Regions from separate parts of the Homo sapiens genome. Here regions 1, 2, 4, 5, 6 and 7 are each linked to region 3. The links are contacts of gene promoters, found by promoter capture Hi-C in human tissues and cell types (Jung and others, 2019). All regions are on one chromosome and are shown on one strand. Each heading gives the region's core, a stretch centred on a gene start or on the middle of the fragment in contact. The rest is flanking DNA. Distances are from core to core; before and after follow the strand shown. Region 1 overlaps ZNF721 (zinc finger protein 721). Region 2 holds the start of ZNF721 (zinc finger protein 721). Region 3 holds the start of MYL5 (myosin light chain 5). Region 4 overlaps ZNF721 (zinc finger protein 721). Region 5 overlaps PIGG (phosphatidylinositol glycan anchor biosynthesis class G (EMM blood group)). Region 6 overlaps PIGG (phosphatidylinositol glycan anchor biosynthesis class G (EMM blood group)). Region 7 overlaps GAK (cyclin G associated kinase).

Evidence for each region. The method cuts DNA at HindIII sites, captures the fragments that hold promoters and counts their contacts. A contact is called where the count stands out against the background at its distance.
Region 1: a fragment that was not itself captured here is called in contact with the fragment with the promoter of MYL5 in region 3 in 2 of the 25 tissues and cell types used here (dorsolateral prefrontal cortex and lymphoblastoid cells).
Region 2: a contact is called between the fragment with the promoter of ZNF721 here and the fragment with the promoter of MYL5 in region 3, in 7 of the 25 tissues and cell types used here (IMR-90 fibroblasts, dorsolateral prefrontal cortex, heart left ventricle and 4 more).
Region 4: a contact is called between a fragment that was not itself captured here and the fragment with the promoter of MYL5 in region 3, in 2 of the 25 tissues and cell types used here (dorsolateral prefrontal cortex and lymphoblastoid cells).
Region 5: a fragment that was not itself captured here is called in contact with the fragment with the promoter of MYL5 in region 3 in 2 of the 25 tissues and cell types used here (lymphoblastoid cells and mesenchymal stem cells).
Region 6: a contact is called between a fragment that was not itself captured here and the fragment with the promoter of MYL5 in region 3, in 1 of the 25 tissues and cell types used here (H1 embryonic stem cells).
Region 7: a fragment that was not itself captured here is called in contact with the fragment with the promoter of MYL5 in region 3 in 1 of the 25 tissues and cell types used here (lymphoblastoid cells).

The regions. Positions count from the first base shown.
Region 1 is chr4:452,872-456,587 of GRCh38, reverse strand. All of the region lies in intron 2 of ZNF721 (zinc finger protein 721), which reads left to right. It also overlaps the pseudogene ABCA11P. Among named protein-coding and RNA genes, the nearest start is that of ZNF721, 44 kb to the left of the region's middle. The HindIII fragment of the contact is 4,490 bases long and covers 2-3,716 here.
Region 2 is chr4:497,807-501,648 of GRCh38, reverse strand. It overlaps ZNF721 (zinc finger protein 721), which reads left to right and starts at 2,493. Exons shown (of 3, transcript NM_133474.4): 1 at 2,493-2,593. PIGG (phosphatidylinositol glycan anchor biosynthesis class G (EMM blood group)) reads right to left here and starts at 2,439. Exons shown (of 13, transcript NM_001127178.3): 1 at 2,160-2,439; 2 at 1,048-1,253. The coding sequence starts at 2,313. RefSeq lists enhancers at 1,478-2,341, 2,299-2,778, 2,342-3,207. The HindIII fragment of the contact is 23,753 bases long and covers 1-3,842 here.
Region 3 is chr4:672,038-675,793 of GRCh38, reverse strand. MYL5 (myosin light chain 5) reads right to left here and starts at 1,252. Exons shown (of 9, transcript NM_002477.2): 1 at 1,111-1,252. ATP5ME (ATP synthase membrane subunit e) reads left to right here and starts at 1,518. Exons shown (of 4, transcript NM_007100.4): 1 at 1,518-1,582; 2 at 1,828-1,882; 3 at 2,393-2,491; 4 at 3,275-3,358. The coding sequence starts at 1,547. The coding sequence ends at 3,294. RefSeq lists enhancers at 682-751, 629-1,386 and a silencer at 962-1,231. The HindIII fragment of the contact is 2,744 bases long and covers 979-3,722 here.
Region 4 is chr4:469,937-473,950 of GRCh38, reverse strand. ZNF721 (zinc finger protein 721) reads left to right here. Exons shown (of 3, transcript NM_133474.4): 2 at 1,250-1,376. The coding sequence starts at 1,343. It also overlaps the pseudogene ABCA11P. Among named protein-coding and RNA genes, the nearest start is that of ZNF721, 27 kb to the left of the region's middle. RefSeq lists an enhancer at 1-52. The HindIII fragment of the contact is 4,057 bases long and covers 49-4,014 here.
Region 5 is chr4:516,321-519,929 of GRCh38, reverse strand. All of the region lies in intron 6 of PIGG (phosphatidylinositol glycan anchor biosynthesis class G (EMM blood group)), which reads right to left. Among named protein-coding and RNA genes, the nearest start is that of PIGG, 19 kb to the right of the region's middle. The HindIII fragment of the contact is 7,094 bases long and covers 1-3,609 here.
Region 6 is chr4:534,158-538,044 of GRCh38, reverse strand. All of the region lies in intron 12 of PIGG (phosphatidylinositol glycan anchor biosynthesis class G (EMM blood group)), which reads right to left. Among named protein-coding and RNA genes, the nearest start is that of PIGG, 37 kb to the right of the region's middle. The HindIII fragment of the contact is 5,050 bases long and covers 105-3,887 here.
Region 7 is chr4:914,666-918,582 of GRCh38, reverse strand. The region is part of intron 1 of GAK (cyclin G associated kinase); the gene reads left to right. Among named protein-coding and RNA genes, the nearest start is that of GAK, 16 kb to the left of the region's middle. RefSeq lists a silencer at 3,276-3,455. The HindIII fragment of the contact is 4,061 bases long and covers 1-3,718 here.

The DNA of each region.
Region 1 (3,716 bases), core at 997-3,496, 220 kb after region 3:
TTCATATTTGTATGGTAATTTTCAACTCTGTACCTTTTATGACCATGTGGTGTTTAATTCAAATAAAATTCATTCAAATAAAAATCATTAGGTTTTACTCGAAGCAATTTAAAATATATGTATAATTCAGAGATTTCTATTGCCTATAAAAGTTATCTATGTGATGTTTGCCTTTATAAATATTGCCCTTACCTGGTTTATAAATTATTTTTTTGATAGGCCGGGCATGGTGGCTCACGCCTGTAATCCCAGCACTTCGGGAGGCTGAGGCGGGTGGATCACCTGAGGTCAGGAGTTCAAGACCAGCCTGACCAACATGGAGAAACCCTGTCTCCACTAAAAATAGAAAATTAGCCAGGTGTGGTGGCGCATGCCTGTAATCCCAGCTACTCAGGAGACTAAGGCAGGAGAATCACTTGAACCCGGGAGGCGGAGGTTGCAGTGAGCCGACATTGTGCCACTGCACTCCAGCCTGGGTGACAGGGCGAGACTCCATCTCAATAAATAAATAAATAAATAAATAAATAAATAAATAAAAATTTTTTTGGTGATCATGACTGTTTTCTTTTGTAGGTGAGTAGGCAAAGAAACAGTGGAATATTACCACCTATTTATTGTTTGATTATGTTTTGTGAGAGAAACACTTGTTATTCAAAGGTGATTTTTGAAAAATGGAACCTTTTTAGGTAGATGTAAATATTTAGTTGTGATGAAAAACATAAAATTGCCTAAAGGTTTTCAAGTGTACAGTCTAGTGGGGTTAAGTACATTTACATTATTTTGAAATGGATCTCTACATTTTGTCTTACAAAAGTAAAGTTTAATACTCTATGAACTATAAACTGCCATTTTTTTCTTTTTCTTCAGCTCTTGAAGAACACCATTTTACTTACTGTTTCTGTAATTTTGACTGATTTTTATATTGTCATTGGTGTAATATTTTTTCTTTCTTTTTTTTTCTTTTTTACTGTCTTCACATAATGTTCTTAGGCTTGGTTTTTGGTTGGTTGGTTGGTTGTTTTGAGATGGAGTCTTGCTCTGTTGCCAGGCTAGAGCGCAGTGGCACGATCTCGGCTTACTGCAACCTCTGCCTCCCAGATTCAAACGATTCTCCTGCCTCAGCCTCCCAAGTAGCTGGGACCACAGGTGTGCACTACCATGTCCAGCTAATTTTGTATTTTTAGTAGAGACAGGGTTTCACCGTGTTGGCCAGGATGGTCTCGATCGCTTGACCTCAGCTGATCCGCCCGCCTCGGCCTCCCAAAGTGCTAGGATTACAGGTGTGAGCCAGGACAACTGGCCTCAGGCTTTTGTTTTTGTAAGATTGTTGTGTGCTGCGGGGTGAAAGGAGAAGGAAAGACACACACACAATATCTTTAAGGGTAAACAACCTTTATCCCATGTAAATGGCAATGTAGGTATATAAGCAAATGATATAATAAGCAGATTGCAGTGGGAAGGGGAGAAGGGAAAAGAGATACATATATTTACATTCACCAGACTATGGAGGATTCACCACCAGACCGGGAAGCAAAACAGCCTGGGCTCTAGAGTCCACCATTCATCCGTGCACAGATGAGGAGAGGTCTCGTGAAGCTTTGGCGCAGTGTGGGACCCTAGCTCTTTTTGTAATGAGTTGTTTGGCATGAGGCCCAGTCACGAGGGGCTTTTGCACCTGAGCTCAAGGAACACAAAAAGATCAACTTGTTTTTGCAATTGTCTATTGTTTTCAATAACTAACATATAGGAATAGATTGAAATAGAGATTTCTCCAAAACGGCACTGGATGAACGTGTCAAGGGGCTCACACAGCCCATTCCGGGATTTGGTGACCGTTGTTTGTGTCCATGTTCAATTGAGTTCAAATTTAATATTTAACTTTTCCTCCACATTCGGCCTCAGTTTGATCCTCAATTGTAGGAAAATACCCTTACAGATACATGGGGAAGGCATAGTTGATATAGATTACAGATACAGGTAAGCACAGGAGAACTAAAAGCAGAGTTAATAAAAACCACACCCACCATGGCTTTGCAAGGAGAGTGATTGTGAGAATTGTCAGGGATATACACATAACATTCAGTATGCAGTAAGGCTCAAACCCCTCCTTGGGCTGCGGTAAGCATATCTAATGCCATTCAGTTTTGCAACACAACAGTACACAGCTGAGCAAATTCCTCTGACAACAACATAAGTCCAGTGCTACTATCATTAAGAGCTTTGTCTACATGTAAACTTAATATTTTAATTTGCTGCTGAAGCAGGATTGTACCAGCAGCAGGGGAGAATACTGTAGTAGGCTATCACCACCAGGGAGTCCAGCGCATTTGTATGGTGGATGGAATTAATGGCCACCCCCAAGTGTATCTCTCTGTCCATTGTAGGGGCAGGTATCACCACCCGTAGTATCCACATATCCAGAGGGCCCCCCCAGGGGACTGCAATATAGTTACTGTAATCATAGTGTACTAATGTGTTATTAAAGTAGGAAAGAGATTGTGTTTCATTAGGGACAATGCTGTTGATTTGGAGTATGTGTTGACAGTTGTCTGGTGGGAGAAACCCAGAGGAACATTAGAGGAGCCATTTAAGGCCTCCAGACAAAGTGGCGGGTGGGTGGGGAGCTATATGGAATCCGGCCACCAGCACAGCAGGTTCCCAATATATACCGTTCCAGGCATATTGGGCAGGATACCAAGGCTTTTGATGCATGGTGAAGGTGGAGTTCACCTTTCACTTGACTTGGGCATAAATAGATTGCTTGGTTTGGTCATAGGAAGTTCAGGTTGGATTGCAAGTGTTGTTGTTGTGGCCCCATTGATAGTGACATAGCCATTCAGAAATGTTGTCACGGACGATTCTTCAAGGTAGCTCATTCCTGGCGGCCTCTGGCAGCTGGACGCATAGCCGACATTGATTGTGGTTGGCTTCTTCTATAGTGGTGGCTACCCAGTTGATGAATTTATCCTTGGCCTCAGATACAAAGACACATGTGCTGACCATTAGTAGATAGGTTATTCCATTATAATGCCTCTCATTACCAGGCTTGAACATGTAATCCATTCATCCACATTCAAGTTTGCAGTTGTGGTGGAAATTTTGGCCTGTTGATCTGCCAGCTGATTAAATAGTCTGTCAAGAGAAAACAGAGATGCATGAGCATCAACATGGAGAACAGTGATAATGGTGGTGTGTGCCAGGATTCAGGTATCTTCCCAGTATTTTTTTCCCCAAACCTCTTTATTCCCAATTAACCATTTGTTTCATTGCCATTGGGGCAACCAGGTAGTAAGACCATCTGCTACTGACCAAGAGTTGGTATACAACTGACAAATCCCTCTGGCCTCCTCCTAAATAGCTCAGAGGACCATTACTGGTTCAACCAGCTAGCTGCTTCCACCTTTTCCTTCATCAGAAATGCTTATGTTTTCTAACAGGACTGTAAGCCACGGCCTTCTAGCGTCGAGTGCCACCAGTGTATTTGGTGGTCCATTAGTAAACCAGGCATGTTTCTGGTCCTCTGGGCTTAGTTTTTTAAAGGATTTGTCCCATTGGATGGGGGAGGTTTCCTTCCCTAACTGAAGGGCTTGCTCAGTGGTTTTCTGAGCTGGCAAGTTTTGTACATCCTTATGCAAAAGCAGTATCCCCTTTGGTCCTGGCTTAGCCCTATCTTGTGTATACCATTTCCATTTTATAATGCTGCTTTCTTGAGTGTG
Region 2 (3,842 bases), core at 1,244-3,743, 180 kb after region 3:
GTCTCAGACTGCTTTCATCCAGTGAACATCTGCCAAGCATCTGCAAATGGGGCTGCCCCCAAGCCTTAAATCAATAAGTAGCTCCTTCTCACCAAATAATGTTTCACATGATCAACAACACAGCTAAGGCTCCGTCAGAGACTTTATGCCACGCTCACATGCGATACACTCACACACTTCAACCCCTCTGCTCCTTTCTGTCCCCACCTTTATTCATCCTTCCAGTCTCAGTTTAAATGCAATTTCCTCAGCCAGGCTTTCTCACCCACTAATCATCACATCCTGTTCTTTCTCATCATGCATTAACCACACTTTACAACTGCATGTTTTCATATGCTCCTTTGTTGAGTGGCTGTATATCTAAAGACTAAAAGCTACATGAAGGCAGAGATACTATTTTTTCCCCAATTGCATACCCATTGAAGTATCACCACATAGTCGTTGCTCAAAAGTTTTGAGCCAATCAATAAAGGCTTACTTTTTTCTTTACCCACGGTTCTTGGGAAATGCACTATGTACTTCAAAGCTGCTGTCAGTAGGCTGGACACCTGAAGGATATGGTGGAAACAGTGGTAATTGTTGAGGCCGGAACATACTGATTTGATCATTATGTATACTGGTGGATAATTTTGGAGAAGTCACATTTAACTTATCTGAGTTTGCTTTCCTATCTATAAAGTCTAGAGACTGAACTAGATTAACTCTAAAGGCTCCTTCTAAGATTGTAAATGACCCAGTGACGATTAAAGAAGAAAGCAGGTCACCAAGAATGGCATATCTTGGGGTAGGTTAGCCTGGATGATCTTGCTCTAAATCTTTTATATTTGCCATGAAGCATGAGCTTTGGCTACTTGACATGGGGCACAAATGATGGGTCTCAGTTCCATCCCGTGTGAGGCTCCTTCAACATTCTATTGCCCCAGCCAACTGACAGCACAAAATTTCCACTTTCTTAAAATTGCAACTCCAAGCGAAAGACTACAGAGACCCCCTCTAAATCTTCAAAACAGCCAAACCATGATTCATAAAACATTAAGGCAAACTTACCTTGATTCGAGGCATAGTAACTGTAGGTGGCTTTGCTTCAGCCACAAAACTGTGAGATGCTCCTTTTTCCACAAGGTAAGTTGTGTAGGGCATAAATTTCACACCCTTTGACCCAAACACAAAATCATCTCTCAAGGCATCTATCAGAACAATAACAACTTTACTGAAGAGAGGTGGTGGCAGCGTGGTCCAGTTAGAACTGGCTCCTAAGTGTTTGAAAGAAAAAAAAGGAAATTGAACTCTAAACTTTCCTTAGCATCAAGCACCTTCACAATCTAGCTTCTACCTACTTCTCCAGCACATACCCTGCGATATCTACATAACCCAACCCAAAAGGAGGCGACTTGTACTTGGTAGGTAGTGCTGGGGGGAAAGGACGGGGGTTAACAGGAGTAATCTTAGGGACCCACAGTAGCAAGCAGTGAATTATCCTCAGTATGGTGAAGAGTACTGGGGTAGGAGAATCCCTACGTAAGGGTCCTGGAATGGGACATTTAGGGAGCTTGACCTAAAACGCAGAGCTGCAGCTACGGGATGGCTGGGCGTTTACATACTGCGTTTACATGGTCAGCGGCTGGCGATGTGTGCAAGTGGTCCAGAACCAGGGCGCCTTTACTTGCTGTATATGGCTGGGTAGGTGAAGCCTAGGAAGAGGCCTAACGCAGAGAGGCCTTAGCCCCTAGGCAGGGAAAACATCTTGGAGGAATATAAGAGACCAAAACGCGAGGGGATCGGCAGGGGTCTTATCTGTTGTGTGCTAGGGGGCAAAAAGGGCGCCTATAACGGGGAGTGACCCAAAGGCTGCTCAGGAAAGGGGCGGGAGCTCTGGACGAGTAGAAGTGGAGAGGCTGGATCCCAGGTATGGACACAGCTTACTTTGTGGTGATCAGGAAGGAAGGTCGAAGTGGGGCCAGTAGAGGTGGTTGCCACAAAGTTGTAAGAATACAGAAAAGAGACGCTGGAGCGGTTAAAAAAAATTTCTGAGGTGGGGACCATAATGGAAGAGACCACCGGGGAGCGCCGAGAAGAAATCCGAGCAGCGAGGCTCAGAAAAAAGGTCTTCTAGGGGATGTGGGGTCAGGGGAGCGGAGACGCCGGGGAGGGGTCCGTACCAGCCGAGGGTTCGGGCGCTGGGGGCTCCGCTCCGTGTTCCGCTCTGGCAGAGGAACGAACGGGAGCCGGGAAGAATCCCCGAAGGAAGACCGCGATCCCTAGCACCTCGATCGCTACGCAACAGGTAGCGAAAGTCCCGGAGCCCAGCCGCATCGTGGACACGCTAGGCTGGATGCGGAACCGACCCCACCTGGAGCCTCGCCCTGCTGCAGCCGCGCTTCCGGCTCCAGGTAGCCGCCTCTAAGCAATAACGCCAGGCCTTATCGTCGCAGCGACAGTGGCGTCACGTCCGCCGGCGCGCCACAGCAGCGCGTCACTTCCGCCAGCCCGCCACAGCGGGGCGTCACCTCGGACATACGAACAGCGGGCGGTGTTCCCGGCTCCGTGGGGCCGTCTTCCCGGCGAGTCCGCGACGGTCGCCGCCCACGGCGAGGTACGAGGTTTTAAAAAGTTTTTAATTTGGAAGGCAGGGTGCAGTGGCTCACGCCTTTAATCCCAGTACTTTGGGAGGCCGAGGCGGGCGGATCACGAGGTCAGGAGATCGAGACTATCCTGGCCAACATGGTGAAACCCCGTCTCAACTAAAAATACAAAAAATTAGCGGGGCGTGATGGCGGGTGCCTGTCGTCCCAGCTACTCGGGAGGCCGAGGCAGGAGAATCGCTTGAACCTGGGAGGCGGAGGTTGCAGTGAGCCGAGATCGCGCCACTGCACTTCTGCCTGGCAACAGAGCGAGACTGCGTCTCAAAAAAAAAAAAAAAAAGAAAATTCAACCCAATACCTCAGACAACTGGTAAATATCTTAATGATTAACTTCGTTTTAAAGATGCCACATGAGTGAGATCATGAGGTATTTGTCTTTCTGTGTCTTATTTTGCTTACATGATATCCTCAGGTTTATCCGTGTTGTGGCAAATGATAGGGTTTCATTCTTTTATTAGAGCTGAATAGTACTCCATTGTGTATATATACCACATTTTCTTTTTTCTGAAAGGAAAATCTTGGGGCCCCAAAATTACTAAACTAAGGGAAAAGACAAGCTCGGAACTGCTCAGGACAAACCTGCCTCCCATTCTATTCAAAGTCATTCCTCTGCTCACTGAGATAAATGCATATTGATAGCCTCCTTTGGAGAGGCTTATCAGAAACCCAGAAACTGCAACCATTTGTCTGTCACCTACCTGTGACCTGGAAGCCCCCTCCCTGTTCCAAGTTGCCCCCGCCTTTCTGGACAGAACCAATGTCCTTCTTTTTTTTTTTTTTTTTTTTTTTTTCTTTTTCTTTTCAGATGAAATCTCACTCTGTCGCCCAGGCTGGAATGCAGTGGCGTGATCTCAGATCACTGCAACCTCTGCCTCCCGGGTTCAAGCAATTCTCCTGCCTCAGCCTCCTGAGTAGCTGGGATTACAGGTGCGTGCCACCACGCACGGCTAATTTTTGTATTTTTAGTTGAGACGGGGTTTCACCATGTTGGTCAGGCTGTTCTTGAACTCCTGACCTCGTGATCCGCCCGCCTCGGCCTCCCAGAGTGCTGGGATTTACAGGCATGAGCCACCGCGCCCGGCCTGTTTTTTTTTTGTTGGTTTGTTTTTGAGACGGAGTCTCGCTCTGTCGCCCAGCCTGGAGTGCAGTGGCACCATCTCCGCTCACTGCAAGCTCCGCCTCCCGGGTTCACGCCATTTT
Region 3 (3,756 bases), core at 3-2,502:
TGATGCCCAGGCTGATCTGAAAGTGGGTGGAGCTCGGGCAATCATGCTCCCTCACCTCGTCCTGTGCTGCCCGGTTCCTAACGGGCCACAAGCTGGTACTGGTCTGCACCTGGGGGTTGGGGACCCCTGCCCTATAGGACTGGCCTTGGTATACCCAGCTCAGGAAACAGAGCCCAGTGACTTCCTAGTTTCTCAGCCAGAGAGGCCCAGGCCCTGGACCCCAGAGCAAGCCAGGAGAGGGGGCAGAGGCGACTTAGGCCCGGACAGGTAGCCCAGGCCGCCAGGATCACGGGTCCTCCCCATGCTTGCTTCAAGAGTCCTGGAGTTTGTGATGCTGCACCTTAGCGAGACCCGAGCCATAGTTCTCCAGTTGCTTCTGCCTGTAGCAGTGCAGGGCCAGGAGGGGACACAGGAGGCCTTGCGTCACTACTGCATGGGGCCAAAGGGGGCCCGAGGGTGGCCCAGCACGGGCAGCATGGCTGCCGCCAGGAAGACCCAGAACGTGGAGGGGGTGCCAGGCTCCTGCCTAGACTCCAAGCCTGGTGTCCATGGGGCTGGCGGGTCAGCACTTCGGGCACAGCGGGGAGGCTGCATAGGCACCGCAGGCCCCATCTCTGGGCAGCTGTGGGAGACACACAGCTACCGGGAGGTGGACAGAGGCCAGCAAAGACCAGTGTGGGGCTCAGTGGTCCCCAGGCCTGGGCCGGGGCAGGCCCTTGGAGCCGTGGAGTCCTGAGGCCTGGAGTCGGGGGACCCAGGGAGCAGCCTCTGTTGGGGGCTGGTCTTCCCAAGAAGATCCCAGCCCCTCTTCGGGACAGAAGTGATGGGGCATCCTGGGGTGAGGAAGCTCCAGCTCCGGGATGAAGGGCGCCCCGTGCTCCCGGGCAGAGCAGCCGCAGGAAGAGGGGCCTGGAGGCCATGCTCCCGCGGGCCGCGGAATCCAACGCGGCCCGGCCGGCGACAGACACTACTGCCTTGTAGGAGAAGGACCTGCCCGGGGAGCCACCTGCACTCGGCTCACACTCCGCTCCCAGGACCCCCAGGTCCCTGCCCAGGCCACCCTCGGGTGGGCGCGGTCCGCGGGGCTGGACCCGCCCGAGCCGCCCTGACCTCAGGCCTCCGACGCTCCGCGCAAGAAGACAGAGTGCGCCCCGGCCCGCAGTCTGGGGTGTGGACACACGGCCAGGACGCGGACGGCGGGGCCTCGGCAGCAGCGCGGGGAAACAGCGGACCCCCAGCCCTGCGGGGAAAGGAAACCCCCCGCCCACTCGGCGCAGATCCCGCCTCACGCAGCAACTGCGCAGGCGCAGCCGATGATCCTCCGCGCACTCCCCAGCCTTTGTGCGCGTGCGCCTCACGTGACGTCACCGCCGCGCGGGGGCGCGCAGTCACCCTTCGGTCGCCAGGGGGCGCGGCCCCCCGCTCTCTCGCCGCTGACGGCGCATGCGTGCGCCCAGCTCCGCCTTTGCCTCCAAGGCTTTGCTGGCTTGTGCGGCATCCTGCTCCGTCTGCAGGTTGTGCTTCCGGTGCGGAGGTCAGGGACAAGATGGTGCCACCGGTGCAGGTCTCTCCGCTCATCAAGGTGATCCAGGCTTTGCAGCCGCCGCCCAGTGCTCTGGGCCCCCCCGTGTCCCGCCCCGCAGCTCCGACCCCGCGGGCTGCGACCCCCGGCCCCCGCCCCCATGATCCTCGCCCCGTGACCCTCGCCCGGCGACCGGACCCCCACCCCTCCTGCGACCTCTGCCCAGCGACCCCGCCCCCCCTCCTCCCGCGACCCCCGTCCCGCGAGCCCCGTTTCGCGCCGCCTCTGACCAACCTCTTTCGCAGCTCGGCCGCTACTCCGCCCTGTTCCTCGGTGTGGCCTACGGAGCCACGCGCTACAGTGAGTGACCGCGGGCGGGGCCGGGGCGGGGTCTGCTCGGCTTTCCTGTGGAGCTCCTGTGCTATTTGGAGAACTCCAGCTCTGGAAGGGGGCTTGGGACGCATGCGAGGCTGCAGGACCGTGTCCTCCACCGAGCGTGACCCCGATAGTGGAATCAGCTCACCCAAAGCTCAGGCTTCTGAGGCCCGGGCGGGGGACTCGAAAACGGCTGCTTCTTGGTGAAAACGGGTGCTAAATGGCTGTTCGAGTGCTGAGGTCTTGATGGGAGGCAGTCCCTGTTCGCAGAGGACGAGTGAGCCAGTGCGTGAGCGGGTGGGCAGCAGGGGCCCTGTAGCCTCTGGGTTGGACTCGTCAGGGTGAAGGTCAGGCGTTGACTCGCATTAACATAAAGAGCGGGAACAGCAGGTGCGTCTGGTTTACAGCGTCGCTGAAGATACCTTGACCTGTGGACTCAGTTCCTTTTGTACAGCATTTCCAGTGAATTTTATTCTCCTGCATTCCGCCAAACAGATTACCTAAAACCTCGGGCAGAAGAGGAGAGGAGGATAGCAGCAGAAGAGAAGAAGAAGCAGGATGAACTGAAACGGATTGCCAGAGAATTGGCAGAAGGTACGAGTGACACTGGCTCTTATAGATTGTCCCTCCCAGGTTTGTGCAGGGATAAGGAAAATGGAGGAGGACATTTAAGCAGAGCTAAGTAGATGCGGATTGTTTAAAAATGGGGAAGCTGGCCAGGCGTGGTGGCTCATGCCTGTATCCCAGCACTTTGGGAGGCCAAGGCGGGCAGATCACCTGAGGTTAGGAGTTCAAGACCAGCCTGACCAACATGGTGCAACCCTGTCTCTACAAAAATTAGCCGGGCATGGCCCGGTGCGGTGGCTCATGCCTGTAATCCTAGCACTTTGGGAGGCTGAGACAGGCAGATTGCCTGAGCTCTGGAGTTCGAGACCAGCCTGGGCAAGATGGTGAAACCCCATTTCTACTAAAATACAAAAAATCAGCCGGGCATGGTGGCAGGCACCTGTAATCCCAGCTACTCAGAAAGCTGAGGCATGAGAATTGCTTGAACCCGGGAGGCGGAGGTTGCAGTGAGCTGAGATCACGCCACTGCACTCCAGCCTGAGCAGCAAAGTGAAATTCTGTCTAAAAAAAATTAGCCAGGCATGATGGCGGGTGCATGTAATCCCAGCTACTCAGAAGGCTGAGGTGGGAGAATCGCTTTAACCTGGGATGCAGAGGTTGCAGTGAGCTGAGATTGCGCCATTGGGTGACAGAGCGAGACTCCGTCTCAAAACAAAAAAAAAAAAAAAAAAAATAACTGGGAAGCTGAAGTGGTCTTTTTAGGTTGCCTGAGTGGTAACATGTGCTTTTCTTCTAACCTTCCGGCCCAAGATGACAGCATATTAAAGTGAGTGACCCTGCGACCCACTCTTTGGACCAGCAGCGGATGAATAAAGCTTCCTGTGTTGTGTGATACTCCGGCTCCTCATTTGCTGTCGCTGGTTGTGGAATTCCTAGGTTGAAGTTCTGTCCACCTCCCAGTTCACGTGAGGTGGAAGACAGGGAGGGGGTTTCAAAAGAATCCACATTACCATTCACAGACCCAGAATGCATCATGTAAACACAGTGGGAAGGACAGATGCGCGCTGCCTGTTCTGTCTGGGGCATCCAGGTGGGGAGCCCCAAAGGCCGTCTGTAATGGAGTCAGTCAGCTGGGGGCCTCATGAGTACTGGGGTTGTCTTGATTCTGAGTTCTAGGCTGCTGCTCTCAGCAGCCCAGACCCCTGGATGGGGAGGGGTAGGCACTGACTGACGCCCTTACAGTTGGGAAGCTGGGTCCTCCTCCACAATAACCCCTCGCCCCAACCTGCCAT
Region 4 (4,014 bases), core at 828-3,327, 200 kb after region 3:
TGGGGAGGCCTCATCAGAACCGGCGGCAAATGGCGGCGGCGGGACTGAGTCTGCGAACGGAGTCCCCGCTGCCGCCGCTTAGCCCTCGGTCCTCAGTCCCCTCCGGTGAGGGACCCGCGCTCCTGTCGGGGTCCCCGCAAGGCTGCTCTGGCCCAGCCTGCAGCCCTCCTTGTGCAGCTCTGCGCCGCAACCCTGCACCTTCCCCGGGCTGTGGGGTGAGGAGAAGCTCATCGGGAAGACGCCAGGTGCGGCGTGCGCAGGTACCGCGTAGGAGGAGCTGTGGTCCAGGGGTCCTGTCCCTACTTTACGGAATGAGATCGAGGCCCCATCAAAACATAGAGTTCATGTGAGCAAACGGGGACTCATTAATGGGGCAGCGCCGGCTGTGGCTCGTGGCTTGGGGGCTGCCAGCGGGTCTTGAAAAAAAAGACTTTTGTGAGGTGTGTGAGGAAGTGAAGCGAATCACCAGCCCGCCCCAACTTTCCCACCAGTCCCCTTGCCCTGTGCGCCTCCTCCGCGTGGCTGCTCCCGAGTGGCATCAGGATGATGATTGGTGGTCTTGTCTTGGGATGAAAAGCGTTTGTGTTGGGGTAAGGGACTCTGTGTGCTGTGTCTGCTTTCTCTAGCCGAGTAGTACTATAATGGGTCCAGGTGGAGGAGCATCACCGTTAACAGGAGACTTGATAAAAGACGCTAACTCATGGACTCTTTTCAAACCTGCAAAATTTTGGTACAGTGAGGCCTTTAACATCAAATAATTGATATGCGCATTGAAGCTTGAGAGACAGTGCTTAGCTAAGTGACTCTCAGCCCAGTCTTCCCGTAGTGAAGTGAAATCATCACCTGTGCCCTCCCCTCACATCCTGTCTATTGTTCTGGGTGGAAACATTTCTGTTTTTTAAATTAAGTTCCTCGCATATTATAGCAAGGCCAAGGTCAAGCATGAGGACTTCCAGATATTTTCATGAGAGGTGAGTTCAACCTGTTTTCCAGGAGGTCACAGGGCCTACTCTGCTTGGTTTTGGTAGGGGCAGGTCAGTGTAGCCCATTATTTTTATTGCAGGAACAGAAACTGTTGGAATGCCTTCCTTTTTCCGCAGAGCTATAGAATACTTTAGAGAACATTACTGTGTTGAAAGTTGTTTTATCAGATAATCCCAGTCAGTCACATGTCAGAACTGGTTCTCTTAACACATTTCACCTGTAGTCAAATTAAGAACTCTGTCACTTGATACATATGTATTTTCAGGAACCCTTAACATTCAGGGATGTGGCCATAGAATTCTCTCCAGAAGAGTGGAAATGCCTGGACCCTGCCCAGCAGAATTTGTATAGAGATGTGATGTTGGAGAACTACAGAAACCTGGTCTCCCTAGGTGAGGATAACTTTAATGCATAATTCCTAATACTCCCTCTGAGTTTTATTTTCTATTTTTGTAGAATGTCTTTTGAGATATATCTATATAAAAATGTGTGTCTCACACACACAGCTATGTAAGTTATATATGTGTATAGTAAATTCTTAACATTGTTGATAGATTCTCAGAAACTGTAAGTGAAGCAACATATCATTTAGGAAAATGAATTTTAGGGCTGGGTGCAGTGGCTCACGCCTGTAATCCCAGCACTTTGGGAGGCTGAGGTGGGCAGATCAGGAGGTCAGGAGTTTGAGACCAGCCTTGCCAACATGGCAAAACCCTGTCTCTACTAAAAATACAAAAAACTAGCTGGGCATGGTGGCAGGTGCCTGTAATCCAGCTACTTGGGAGGCTTAGGCGGAGAATCACTTGAACCTGGGAGGCAGAGGTTGCAGTGAGCCGAGATTGCGCCATTGAACTCCTGTCTGGGAGACAAGAGCAAAACTCCGTCTCAAAAAAACCAAAAAACAAAAAATAATAATTTTAGCAAAGTTTAATTGATACAAACGAGTTATGTTTGGTATATAGCAACATTGCTTCATATAAAGTTGCAGTTTTCAAGAACCTGTTTTGAACATTAAGTGAGGACTTACTCTTCATCTGTGTTTGTGTGACATGGATTTTTCTGTTAAATAAAAATTGTTTAACTATATTTAATGTGTACAATGTAATGATTTGATATGCATATATTTTGTAATATATGCATATATTTTATTGTAAAGTAAAATATAATCAAGTTGATCAACATATCTATTACCTCATATAGATCATGATTTTTTTGGTAATAAGAACACTTAAGGCCTAGTGTCCTAGCAAATTGTAAGCATACATTACAGTATTATTAATTATAAATGGAATACTGTTTTGCTAATCTAATGCTAATGTACATTAGCATTAGGTTTCTCCTTAGGTTTCTCCTTATTCAACTTATTCAACTTATAACTAAAAATTTATACTCTTTGAACATCTCATATTCCCACCCTTAGGCACTAACAATCGCCATTCTACTTTCTGCTTTTATGAGTTTACATTTTTAGATTTACCCGTCTATGTAAAAAGAAGCAGTTTCTTTGTCTGTCTGTGTTTGGCTAATTTCATTTAGCATCATGTCCTCCAAGTCTATCCATGTTGTAAAAGACTAGATTTTCTTTTCTCTTATGGCTGAATAATATTCTACTGTGTATATATACACTCTATATTTTGGCTATTGTAAAAATACTACAATGAACATGGGGCTGAAGATATTTCTTCAAGGTGTTAATTTAATTTCCTTTGGTAGTATGACCAGAAGTGGTATTGCTGGATTATATGATATGTCCATTTTTATTTTTTACTGGTTTTTATGATGATTTTATCAATTTACATCTCACTAACAGCATACAGCATATACCTTGTATGTATGTCTTTGGGAAAAAAAATCTAACCTTTTGCCCATTTTTGAATGGGTTATCATCATTATTATTGTTTTGCTTTGAATTGCAGAAGTTTCTTAAACATTTTGGATATGGATATTAACTTCTTTTTTTTTTTTTTTGAGACAGAGTCTTCCTCTGTCACCAGGCTACAGTGCAGTGGCATGATCTCAGCTCACTGCTAACTCCGCCTCCTGGGTTCAAGCAATTCTCCTGCCTTAGCCTCCCGAGTAGCTGTGATTCCTGGTGCACACCACCACACCCAGCTAAGTTTTGTATTTTTTAGTAGAGGTGGGGTTTCACCATGTTGGCCAGGATGGTCTCGATCTCTTGGCCTCCCAAATTGCTGGAATTACAGGTGTGAGCTGCTGCGCCCAGCCTTCTATTTTATTTTATTTTATTTTTTGAGACACAGTTTTGCTCTTGTTGCCCGGGCTGGAGTACAGTAGCATGATCTCGGCTCACTGCAATCTCTGCCTCCTGGGTTCAAGCGATTCTTCTGCCTCAGCCTCCCAAGTAGCTGGGAATTACAGGCATGCACCACTAGACTTGGCTAATTTTGTATTTTTAGTAGAGATGGGGTTTCTCTATGTTGGTCAGGCCGGTCTCGATCTTCTGACCTCAAGTGATCCTCCCGCCTTGTTCTCCCAAAATTAACTTGTTATCAGGTATATCGCTTGCAAATATTTCTATCCTGTAGAGTTTTTAGAAATTTTGTTTCTCTTTGCTGTGAAGAAGCAGTTTACTTTGATACAATCCCACTTGTTTGTATTTTTTGTTGTTGCTTTGCTTTTGATGGCATATCAAAAAATTATTGCCAAGACCAGTATCAAGGTTTTTCCATATGTTTTGTTCAGGAGTTCTAAGGTTTTTGTCTTACGTGTAAGTGTTTCATTTTGAGTTAATTTTGGGGTATGGTATAAGACAATGATCTACTTTTGCCAGGCACAGTGGCTCACGCCTGTAATCCCAGCACTTTGGGAGGCAGAGGCAGGTGGATCACGAGGTCGGGAGATGGAGACCATCCTGGCTAACGTGGTGAAACCCTGTCTCTACTAAAAATACAAAAAATTAGCTGGGCATGGTGGCGGATGCCTGTAGTCCTAGCTACTCGGGAGGCTGAGGCAGGAGAATGGCGTGAACCCGGGAGGCGGGAGCTTGCAGTGAGCCGAGATGGCGCCACT
Region 5 (3,609 bases), core at 1,110-3,609, 160 kb after region 3:
CTGCAGGCCCACCCCACTGCTGCCGGCACCAGGTCCCTGAGCGTGAACCCACACGCCTGCAGGCCCACCCCACTGCTGCAGGCACCAAGTCCCTAAGCATGAACCCACACGCCTGCAGGCCCACCCCACTGCTGCCGGCACCAGGTCCCTGAGCGTGAACCCACACGCCTGCAGGCCCACCCCACTGCTGCAGGCACCAAGTCCCTAAGCATGAACCCACACGCCTGCAGGCCCACCCCACTGCTGCCGGCACCAGGTGCTCTGCACTAAGTGCCAGTAGCCAGCAACACTAGGCGGCTCGCTCGTTTCACCTCCCTAATGACCCTATGAGGCAGGGATGAGCATCAGAACTGTTATCCAGAGGAGGCAACTGAGACACAGAGGGTGAGTCACGCACCTGGGCCACAGTGCCAGTGGGTAAAAGCTGCAAATGAAACTCAGGCAGTCTGGTTCCAGGGCTGGCATCCTTCATTGCTACACCTACCACCCTGGATGGGGGGACGCCTGTGTCCACACCCCACCGCCTATCAGAGAGTCACAAAGCTATGGGGGTGCACCTGTGCATGCATCGAAACAAATATCCATGGAGCGTGGACGACGTGCCAGGCACTGTGCCAGGCGCTGTGCCAGGGGAGACACAGCATGGCGAGCAAGCAGGTGCAATCCTTGCCTGCTGGGGCTTGGATCCAGTAGGGCTCACAGACACGCACGCACGCACACAAGCGTAATTACAAACTGTGACTGCATTACAGCTGTAATTACAAGTTTCCCAGGAAGGAAAAGTAGAGGGTATCAATGAGGGATTTTTGGTAATGGGGAGGAACTGATTTTGGATTGGGAGTGGGCGCTGGACCAGGAAGGTCTGATGTTTACGCTGAAATGTAAACGGTACCCAGGAATTCGCCAGGCAAAAAACTGCAGGAAGAGCATCAAGCTGATGGGAACAGCATGTGCAAAAGTCCAGAGGTGAGAAAAAGCCGGTCCCACTACACTGAGAGAGCCGGGTGGGCACAAAGCCTCCAACAGACTGGACGCCACCGAGGGACTGCACGGGCCTGGCTGTGGGTTCTAAAACGTATTTCAGTGTCAGAACACATACCCCATTTTGTTTTAGGAAAAAGGATCCCCGACGGTGTAGACAATGGGCCGCCAGGGGGGGTTCCAGACGCTGTGGCTGTGTTTTCAGTCAAGGGAGGCTCCTGCATTCCTTTAACAGGCTGGTTTCCTCTCATATCCACTGTGGTTCCCATCTTCCCCCAGCCACTACTTCTGGAACAGGCAAATAACCCTTCCATTGTTGTTTTGATTTTGTTGGTATCTTTTTTGTTTTGTTTTTTGAGATGGAGTCTCGCTCTGTCACCCAGGCTGGAGTGCAGTGTCGCCATCTCGGCTCACTGCAAGCTCCGCCTCCCGGGTTCACACCATTCTCCTGCCTCAGCCTCCCGAGTAGCTGGGCCTACAGGCGCCTGCCACCATGCCCAACTAATTTTTTGTATTTTTAGTAGAGATGGGGTTTCACTGTGTTAGCCAGGACGGTCTTGATCTCCTGACCTTGTGATCCCCCCGCCTCAGCCTCCCAAAGTGCTGGGATGACAGGCGTGAGCCACCACACCTGGCCAATTTTGTTGGTGTTTTTATCACTCTTAGCGTAGAAAAAAGGACACAGTAACAAAACAAGCAATATGCAAAAGCTACCAAACTCATACTATTTTTTAAAAAACGAAAAGCACAAGTCACTGTTGTCCCTGGTCTTGACTAAAATGGCTCCATGGCCAAAGTCCTCCACCTCACAGGGTGAGAGCTGGTGCTCGGTGGGGCCTCCAGACACTCATCACATCCGGTTCCCAAGCACTCCTTGGCTGGCCAGGTTTGTCTTCCACACGTGACTCTAGGAGGCCGGTTTACATCTCAGCGCAAGCTTGTGGACGTTCACTCTATTTGGTAGTAATAGTATCCCTCTACTTCAAGTAGGGAAATCTGCCAACACCACATTAACTGCTGCCCCCAAATAGGAGTCGACTTCCTCCGGGCTCTCAAAGGAGTCCCAGTATCAAACATGATTCTTGATGAACGCGGCTGCGTCAGAGTCGATTGTCTGAAGACATCCCAGGGAGACAAACGTTCCTCTCCTGGACCCTTCCTGTAGCTGTCTCCTGGCACCTCCCTTGGCCCCACACCTGCCTCAGGCAACTCCACCTCCTACTCCCATTAGAGTCGCAGTGTCTGCTGCCTAGGGCTCTCGCCTGCCTAGTACCAGCCAGGCCTTCCCCCACTCTCCATCTGACGAAGCCACTCATCACCCTCCATGGCCAGATCCAAAGCTCAGTTCTCAATTCCTGATTTTATTCAATACCAACCTTTGACGCAGCTGCCCACTCCATGCTTCCTGAAATTACTTCTTTACATGGCTTCCTGGACACCAACACCCCCACCCACAAGCACCTGCCTTGCAGAACTGTTCCTCCTAAGTCGTGCCCTCCTGAGGAAATTATTACTCTCTTTGCTTTCAGCTGAAAGCCCCGGAGTCGTACCTAACGCCTCTGGTCTGCTCGTACCCAATATCGCAGCACGTGAGCAAATCCTGTCTTCATGACCTTCAGAATCTTTCCAGAATGCAACCACTTCTTCACCACCCTTGCCTGGGCCCTGGCCACCCTCACCTCTCACAGAAGTACAGCCACTGCCTCCTGACTGGTCTCCTCCTACAGCACAAAGCAGAATCCTCCACGAGGGCGCCTGAGACAGCCTTCGAAAATGCAAGTGGGAGACTCTGGCTCTCACCAAACCCTGCAGCAGCTCCCCATTTAACTCAGAATACAAGTGAAAGCCCTTCCAGCGCCCAGTGGCCCTCACCCCTTAATGCCATCTCCTCTGCCCTGCCCTTGCCACTCTGGCCCCTGCTCTGACCATCCCCTGAATGTGCGCCCCATGGAGGACCCTGTCTGCTGCCCCCACAGCCTGTAATGTGCCCTCCCAGATGGCCAGCGGCCAGCCTGCCCCAGTGGCTCCCCCACCCGCTTCACTTCCCACCCCACGCCTGTTTATTCCTTCTTTTTTTTTTTTTTTTTTTTTTTTGAGGCAGAGTCTTGCTCTGTTGCCAGGCTGGAGTGCAGTAGCGCGATCTCAGTTCACTGCAACCTCCACCTCCAGGGTTCAAGCGATTCTCCTGCCTCAGCCTCCTGAGTAGCTGGGATTACAGGTGCCCGCCACCATGCCTGGCTAATTTTTGTATTTTTAGTAGAGACGGGGTTTCACTGTGTTAGTCAGGCTGGTCTTCAATTCCTGACTTCATGATCCGCCTGCCTTGGCCTCCCAAAGTGCTGGGATTACAGGCGTGAGCCACCGCACCCAGCCCTGTTTATTCTTTTCCTAAGGTACTCGTCACCATCGGCCATCGATCACTTCCTTTTCTCTCCTCCCTCTGGAAGGTTCCATGAGGGCAGAGCCTCGTACCTGCTCTGTCTCCAGTGCCTGTTAACAGCCTCTCATTCATAACAAGATCCTGGTAAATAGTTGTTGAATGAATAAATTTATGAAAGAACTTTAGATAACTGCATCTGAGGGTGCTGCCAATGGTGATAGTTCAAAGTTCTAAGAAAACAGAAACAC
Region 6 (3,887 bases), core at 1,380-3,879, 140 kb after region 3:
GCATGTCCTGTAAAGGGCTCCTCAGTCCTGTCGGCACGTATGTGTGTCTGGGCCCCACATGCATGTCCTGTAAAGGGCTCCTCAGTCCTGTCAGCCCAGCAGCTCCACCAGGTATTACTTGAGGGTGTCCTGTAAGTGGCTCCTGCTTCAGTGCTCACTGCTCAGGAAAGGGTGTCAACAGCCACGAAGGGCCAAGGACGGGGCTGTCTCTGGCCCCTCCACAGCCTCACCTCAGCCCCCCACCGGCTCCCCATCTCAGGCCTTGGAGGGGCCCATCCTCCTCTTGGCTTCTCCAAACACTCCTTCACCTCAGCCCGCCATGTGCTCCAGTAAAATACTCAGACCCTGGGATCTCCCGGTGGGTGGCCGGTGCCTCTGGTCCTTTCACTGCTTTCCTTGCCAGGCCCTGGCTCCTTAGGCGGGTCCCCCAAACCCGTACCGCTGGTCACCACTTGGTATCCAGCCCCACAGGCCGGGGACCCCACAGGGAGGTGGACCCCAAGGTATCCTCAATACACCTCCTGGTGACAGCAACACCCAGGAAAAGGTGAACATACTGGGCAGGAAGATTCGTGGCTAAGTGGGCCGTGGCCCCATCCTACCCAGACAGCGCATGGGGAAGCTGTGGCTTAGACATGGCACCACCTTGACTTCAGTTTAACACTTTATAGCGTTACCCACCTAGAAGATGGCGGCTTGCTGTTCCCACCACTTTAGCAAAGAGCCATTTGCGCTGCAGGGGAGCAGGCAGCCCGGGGTGCCAGCCCCTGGAACAGAGGGTCGCCAACCACTCAAGGCCACGTTTTTGACCTTTTGGAAACATATTTTCTCTGTCTACAATTTAGACCTGGTTATAGTTTTCCTACTCTACTGAAACAAAATAGAAACCATGAGTAAAACTTGATGCTTTAAACTTTTAAAAGGGAAGAAGAAAACCCTATAAAATGAAGGAGAAATGCTTCTTGACTAGGAAAAATATCATGATACTCTCCAGTTGATCAAAATGCTTTCACCTCACTTAATATTTGTCTTTTTCCCTCCCAAACACAAACGTGCCTGGCTGTGTAAGAGATGAAAAGTGCCTGGTCCATCAAACCGCAATCTGCAAGCACCAGGGCAGCTGCAAGGCCGAAGACCAAACCTACAGAGAGAGGAGCCGGGCAAGTACTTCCAGCCCTCCGTCTCCAGCTGGCCACTGGGAGGTGTGCCGTCCACCCAACAGGTGCTTGATCACGCCGCGCACAGCTGTAGCACATCCGTTCTCCAGGGCAGAGGCAGATGCACCTCCACGCGCTCACGCCCGCTTGTCCTGACACCTGACCACACGACGTGCTGACAGCCCACCCCAGACGGCCGAGGACGGCGTCTCCTGTTTCTGTAAGGCCAGTGTGAGCACGCGGCTGGCCTCAAAACCAAGTCAGAGAAAGACGTCCCAGGGCAGCTGCTGAGACAGGCGGACGCCGAGCAGGGGTCTCGTGGCAGATGTTTGTTTTTATGCAGAATCGAAGTCTGGAAGGACGTCTCCACACAGCGCCGCCACAGTGGGTGTCTCCCAAGCTGGTCTGTTGGTGGCTTCCGCCCGCAGAGCCTCAGCTTTCTGCTGTGATGACAAGCTCAGCGGTGACTGTAAATTACGGGGGTCTGTCCACAGACTGCCCCAAAGTGGGCGTGTCAAGCGTCCACAGGCACCTGAAGAAAAGGCAGGTGGATCTCAGGCATTCCTGTCCCCGGGAAGCTTGCAGTCTGGCCAGGGAGCGATTCTCCCCTTGGAAAGGCTCCATGTCCGCTGTGGGAAGGCACGCGCCTATCACTGCTGAAGCAAGGCCAATGCTCCCCCGACCCCTTACGGAAACCTGTGAGCGACTGAGGGGTCCAGCCCGGGCCCGCCGAGTCTGCGGGGCACGAACACTTCCACCATGGTGGACGGTTCCTCTGGCTCCGAAGCACTCATGCTGTGAGAGCCTCAACACAGGACGTGAGCGGCGAGGGGCTCCTTTCAGGGTGGGAAAAGCTCAAAGGCAGGCACGGGTGTGCGTGCCTGGGTGCGTGGGCCCTGCCCGCATGTCCTGTAAAGGGCTCCTCAGTCCTGTCAGCCCGAGGACACCTCTGCGGAATGTCGACAGGGGGCTGGGCATCTGGGTCTGGAGGCAAGGCCAAGGGTCCCTGTGGCCTGGGTCTCAGGAGCTGGTCTGGGGAGGGGAGTGAGGCGGGGAGAGGACCTGCGTGGAGCTGAGAGGATGACCTGGTGAAGGAGGCTGTGGAGCAGAAGCCAGAGGGCGGAGCGGGACCACAGAAACGTGCAGATGCTCTGTGGAGTCGCCGGCAGCTCGGCAGGAGAAGCCTCCAAGTGTCCTGGGAGGGCTGGCACGGGGGCTCAGCAGTCAGCACCGCGAGAGCGACGGTTCAGTCATGGGAGGACGTAGGAGCCCTCCAGCCTCACTGCTCAGCGGAGAGGCCACAGCGCGCTCCCTGGGGCTCCCGGCAGGACTGGGGCCTCCGGTCACCACAGGACACACGCAAAGCTCTGGCTGACCTGCCCAAAGCCACCCAGAAAGTGCGGGAGGCTGGTCCAGTCAGTGTCCCAGACGCTCGCCTGCCCGGGAGGAGGCCGGGCCGCGGTGCGCGGTTTCAGCACACGCAGAAATGCATAGGCGCTGCGGGGATTCGTGACTGTGGCTGGCAGCAGGGACAAGCGTGGAGCACGGGGCACTCTAGTAGATGCCGCAGGGGCCACTAGCCCCTCCAAAGGCTGTGAACGCTTCCAAGTGTCCCCCATTGAGCTCCCAGCAACTCCCGTTTTACAGATGGGAAAACCAGGCACATGTGAGTCGAATAACTTTGCAGGCCCTGGGGTCTCTGCCAGACCAAGTTGGGAGGTACAGAATCACCCACCCCCGCCACACTCCACTCAGCACCTGACTCCGCCAGGCCAGGCACTGAGGCTGCTATGGTGAACAGAGCGGGTGAAGCCCCTGCCTCACAAAGCCTCCTTTCTTGGGGGAGCAAGAAACATACGATGAGGAAGCAGAGAGTGTGCGGCGGTGGGAACGCTGCAGAGAAGACGGGCGTGTGGATGGGGAGCTGCACCCTTGATCTGGGTTTCCCCGGGAGAACTTCTGCACAAAACCGCCAGGAGACGGGCATGTGGATGGGGGGCTGCGCCCTTGATCTGGGGTCCCCCGGGGGGAACTTCTGCACAAAACCGCCAGGAAACGGGTGTGTGGATGGGGGGCTGCACCCTTGATCTGGGATCCCCCGGGGACATCTGCACAAAGCTGCCAGGAGATGGGGATGTGGATGAGGGGCTGCACTGCACCCTTGATCTGGGGTCCCCCCGGTGGAACTTCTGCACGAAGCTGCCAGGAGACGGGTGGGTGTTGGAGAGGAGACCTCAGGCTCACTGGAGGGAACGAGGTGGACCAGGCAGGAGAGCATGGAGGGCAGGCCAGACGCAGCTTGAAGGGACTTCTCAGCGACAGGGGACGGGGCTCACGTCTCTGAACTTCCCTGTGCCCCCCACCCTGTTTTTCCAACCCAAATCAGCTTATGTGTGGAAGGGACATGCCCCTAGCTACTCAAGGACGACTCAGAAGAGCCACGGCCCTGGCCAGGAGCCTTCTCCAGGGTCCTGCGCGCTCCAGCAGGGTCTCTGGGGGCCGAGAGCCGTCTTTTATCTTCATGTCCCCAAAGGGGAAGGACGACCCGCCCTCCATCTGGCCACCAGCAAACAGAAAAACCTGGAGTGGCGGGAAAAGGAATTTTCCTTCCTGTGTCTAGAAACCATGTGCTGGTGTGACCTGGGCAGCCCAGCGAGGCCCCGTCAGACCCAACCCTGGGGAGCCCGGCGAGGCCCCGTCAGACCCGACCCTGGCCCTACACGGACACCT
Region 7 (3,917 bases), core at 439-2,938, 240 kb before region 3:
CTAGTTAACACATGTACTGCATCATAGTTGTCAGTTTTGGGGCATTTTTCAGAATGTAATCTGTCGTTAGTAACTGTATAGTCACCGTGTTGTACAGTGGATCTCTTGAGCTTATTCTTCCTAGCTAACTGAAGTTTTGTCTTTCGTTAGTTTTTCCTTTTTGATCTTTATGCCTTTTATTAATTTTCCTAGCTTTCTTGCATTAACTCGAATCTCCAGTAAAATGTTGGCTTACAGTGCTGAGAGCAGACATCTTGCCTTGTTTCTGATCTTAGGAAGAAAACACGATTAAGTCTTATGTTAGAAGTCAGTTTTTTGTAGTTGTTGTTTCTAAATTTTGTTGGTGATCCAGTGTTCCCTATTCTGCTAATGTTGTTTACTACAGTGATTGATTTTTTAATGTTACACCAACCTTGCATTCCTGGGATGAATACCACCTGGTCATGATGTAGTATCCTTATTATGTTTTGCTGGAATCAATTTGCCAGTATTTTCTTGAGGATTTTTTGTGTCTATGGTAATGAGTGATCTCTTTCCTTAATTTGGTATTTATACCCTTCTTTGGTTAGTGTTATGCTAACTTCAAGCAATGAGCTGGGAACCCTTCTCCTCTATCTAATGAAAGACTTTATAAGCTTGTTGTGATTTCTTCCTTAAGTGTTTGATGTAATTTAGCAGTGGAGCCATCTGTTTTCTATTTTCTATTTCATGGATTTCCATTTACTTCCTTTCATCTGTGTTTTTCCTCACAGATTTATTTATTATTTAAATATTTTAACAGTTGAGATAAAAATGAGATATACAGGCTGCATGTTTTAAATGTTTCGGCACATGTCATGTATGTATGTGTGTGTCACACACTGTATCTGCCACGCTAATCAAGGCAGCAAACATGTGCGTCAGCGCCACGGTCTCCCTCCTCCCCACGGTAACCCTTCGCCCTGCTTTCCTGTTCCCATCCCAGGAAACCACTGATTGGCCTTCTGTTACTATAGATTCATTTGCATTTTCTAGAGTTTTCTGTACACTAACTGTATGTGTATATGTACTCTCTTTTTTTGGCCTGGCATTGGCCTTCTGTTACTATAGATCCATTTGTGTTTTCTAGAGTTTTCTGTACACTGACTGTATGTGTATATGTACTCTCTTTTTTTGGCATGGCATTGGCCTTCTGTTACTATAGATCCATTTGTGTTTTCTGGAGTTTTCTGTACACTGACTGTATGTGTGTGTATGTACTCTCTTTTTTTGGCCTGGCATTGGCCTTCTGTTACTATAGATTCATTTGCATTTTCTAGAGTTTTCTGTACACTAACTGTATGTGTGTGTATGTACTCTCTTTTTTTGGCCTGGCATTGGCCTTCTGTTACCATAGATCCATTTGCGTTTTCTGGAGTTTTCTGTACACTGACTGTATGTGTGTATGTACTCTCTTTTTTTGGCCTGGTCGTTTGTGTTTTCTGGAGTTTTCTGTACATTGACTGTATGTATGTGTATGTACTCTTTTTTCGCCTGGCATCTTTTACTCGGCATACTGCCTTTTCGTGTGTTATTCATGTTGTTGCATGTAACAGCAGTTTCCTCCTTTTTATTGCTAGGTAGTGTTAGAGGTGTGGGTAATTTGTTCATTCACCTGTTGATGGACATTTGGGTTGCTTCCATTTTTAGGCTATTGCACATGAAGCTGCTGTGTAGAAGTCTCTTTACGCACATGTGCCTTCATTTTTCTTGGGTAAATACACAGCAGCGTAATGTCAGGGCTGTATTGTTGATTTATGTTCACCTTTTTAAGAAATCGCCAACATGTTTTCCAGAGTGATTGTACCATTTTCCATTTCCAAAAGCTGTGCATAAGCATTCCAGTCGCTCCACATCCTCAGCGACACTTGGTCTGGGCGGTTTTTAAATGTCAAGTATTCTGCTAGGTATGGGGTCCTATCTTCGCGGTTTAAGTCTGCATTTCTCTAATGGGCAGTGGTGGGACACGTTGTGTACTTGTCACAAGTATATCTTTGGTGATGTGTCTATTCATATCTTTTGCACATTAAAAATTTTGTTGTTTTCTGGGCGTGGTGGCTCACACCTGTAGTCCCAGCACTTTGGGAGGCTAGACCCGCCTGGGCAACTTGGCGAAACCTCGTCTCTTCAAAGAATAAAAAAATTAGCCGGGTGTGGTGACGCATGCCTGTAGTCCCAGCTTCTTGGGAAGCTGAGGTGGGAGGATCACTTGAGCCCAGATGTCGAGGCAGTGGGTTGTGATAGTGCCACTGCACTCCATCCTGGTGACAGAGTAGGACCCTGTCTCAGAAGAAAAAAAAATTGTTGTTACTTGGATTTTTAAAATATTTTCTCGATAGAAGTCCTTTATTAGGTATATGATTTGCAAAACTTAGTAGTGATTTATCTTTTCATCCTCTGACCAGTTTTCAAAAAGCAGAAATTCCTGAAGTCCATTTATCATTATTTTTCTTTTATGGGTCCTGCTTTTGTGCTTATATCTAAAAAATCACTGCCTAACCTTGGGCATGTGGAAGCACAGTTGGTTTTTGTATGTTGCCCTTATATCCAACAACCATCCTGAATGCGTTTGTTATGGTAGCTTTTCTTTAGTAGATTTCACCAGATTTTCTGCATAGATAATCATGTCACCTGCAGATAAAAATAATTTTACTCCTTTTTTCATCTGGATGCCTTTTATTTCTTTTTCTTGACTGATGGCACCGGCGAGAACTTCCTCACAGTGTCGACCATCAGTGGTGAGAACAAGGATCCCCGCCTCCTTCCTGATCTCAGAAGGGAGGATTCGACATTGCACCACGAAATGCAGTGTTCCTGTTGGTCTCTCACAGATGCCGTCTATCAGGCTGGGGAGGTTTCTTTCTGTCCTCGTTTGCTGAGAGTTTTAAATTTCATGATGTAGTTTTTCCACTGCAGAAACCTAAAAGAAAACTAAGCAAATTAGACCCCAAAACAATAGAATTAAATTGATTTTCAAATGTTAAACCAACTCTGCTCCTGATGTCTTGGTGGGCTTGGTTTGCTGTTTTATGAAGAATTCTTGGGTCCACATTCGTGAGTGATGTTGGTGTGTATTCTCTTTTATGTCTTTTCCTCTTTTGGGCGTCGGGGAAGGAGGTCCCCTCTCTTGTTCTGGGTATTGGTGATCTGTCCTCTCTCTCTGGATCAGTCTGTCTAGAATTTATCAGTCTCGTTGGTCTTTGGAGAACTGCTTGTGGTTTTGTTTTTCCTTCTATTGACCTCTGTTCTTAGGTTATTCCTGTCTGTCTCTGGAGTAGAGGAAGTGAAAGGCAGTGGTGTATGCACTGGGGCCGCGCACGCTGGGGCTGAGTGCGGGGGGCCATGTACGCTGGGGCTGAGTGCACGGGGCCGTGTATGCTGGGGCTGTGTGTGTGGGGCCGTGTATACTGGGGCTGTGTGTGTGGGGCCGTGCACGCTGGGGCTGAGTGCGGGGGGCCGTGTACGCTGGGGCTGTGTGTGTGGGGCCGTGCACGCTGGGACTGTGTGTGTTGGCCGTGTGCGCTGGGGCTGTGTGTGTTGGGGGCCGTGTGCGCTGGGGCTGTGTGTGTTGGGGGCCGTGTACGCTGGACCTGTGTGTGTGTGGGGCCGTGTACGCTGGGGCTGTGTGTGTTGGGGGCCGTATATGCTGGGGCTGTGTGTGTGTGGGGCCGTGCACGCTGGGGCTGTGTGTGTGTGTGGGGCCGTGCATGCTGGAGCTATCTGTGTTGGGGGCCGTGTACGTTGGGGCTGTGTGTGTATGGGGCCGTGCACACTGGGGCTGTGTGTGTTGGGGGCCGTGTATGCTGGGGCTGTGTGTGGGGCCTTGCACGCTGGGGCTGAGTGCGGGGGGCCGTGTATGCTGGGGCTCTGTGTGTTGGGGGTGGGGCTGTGCACGCTGG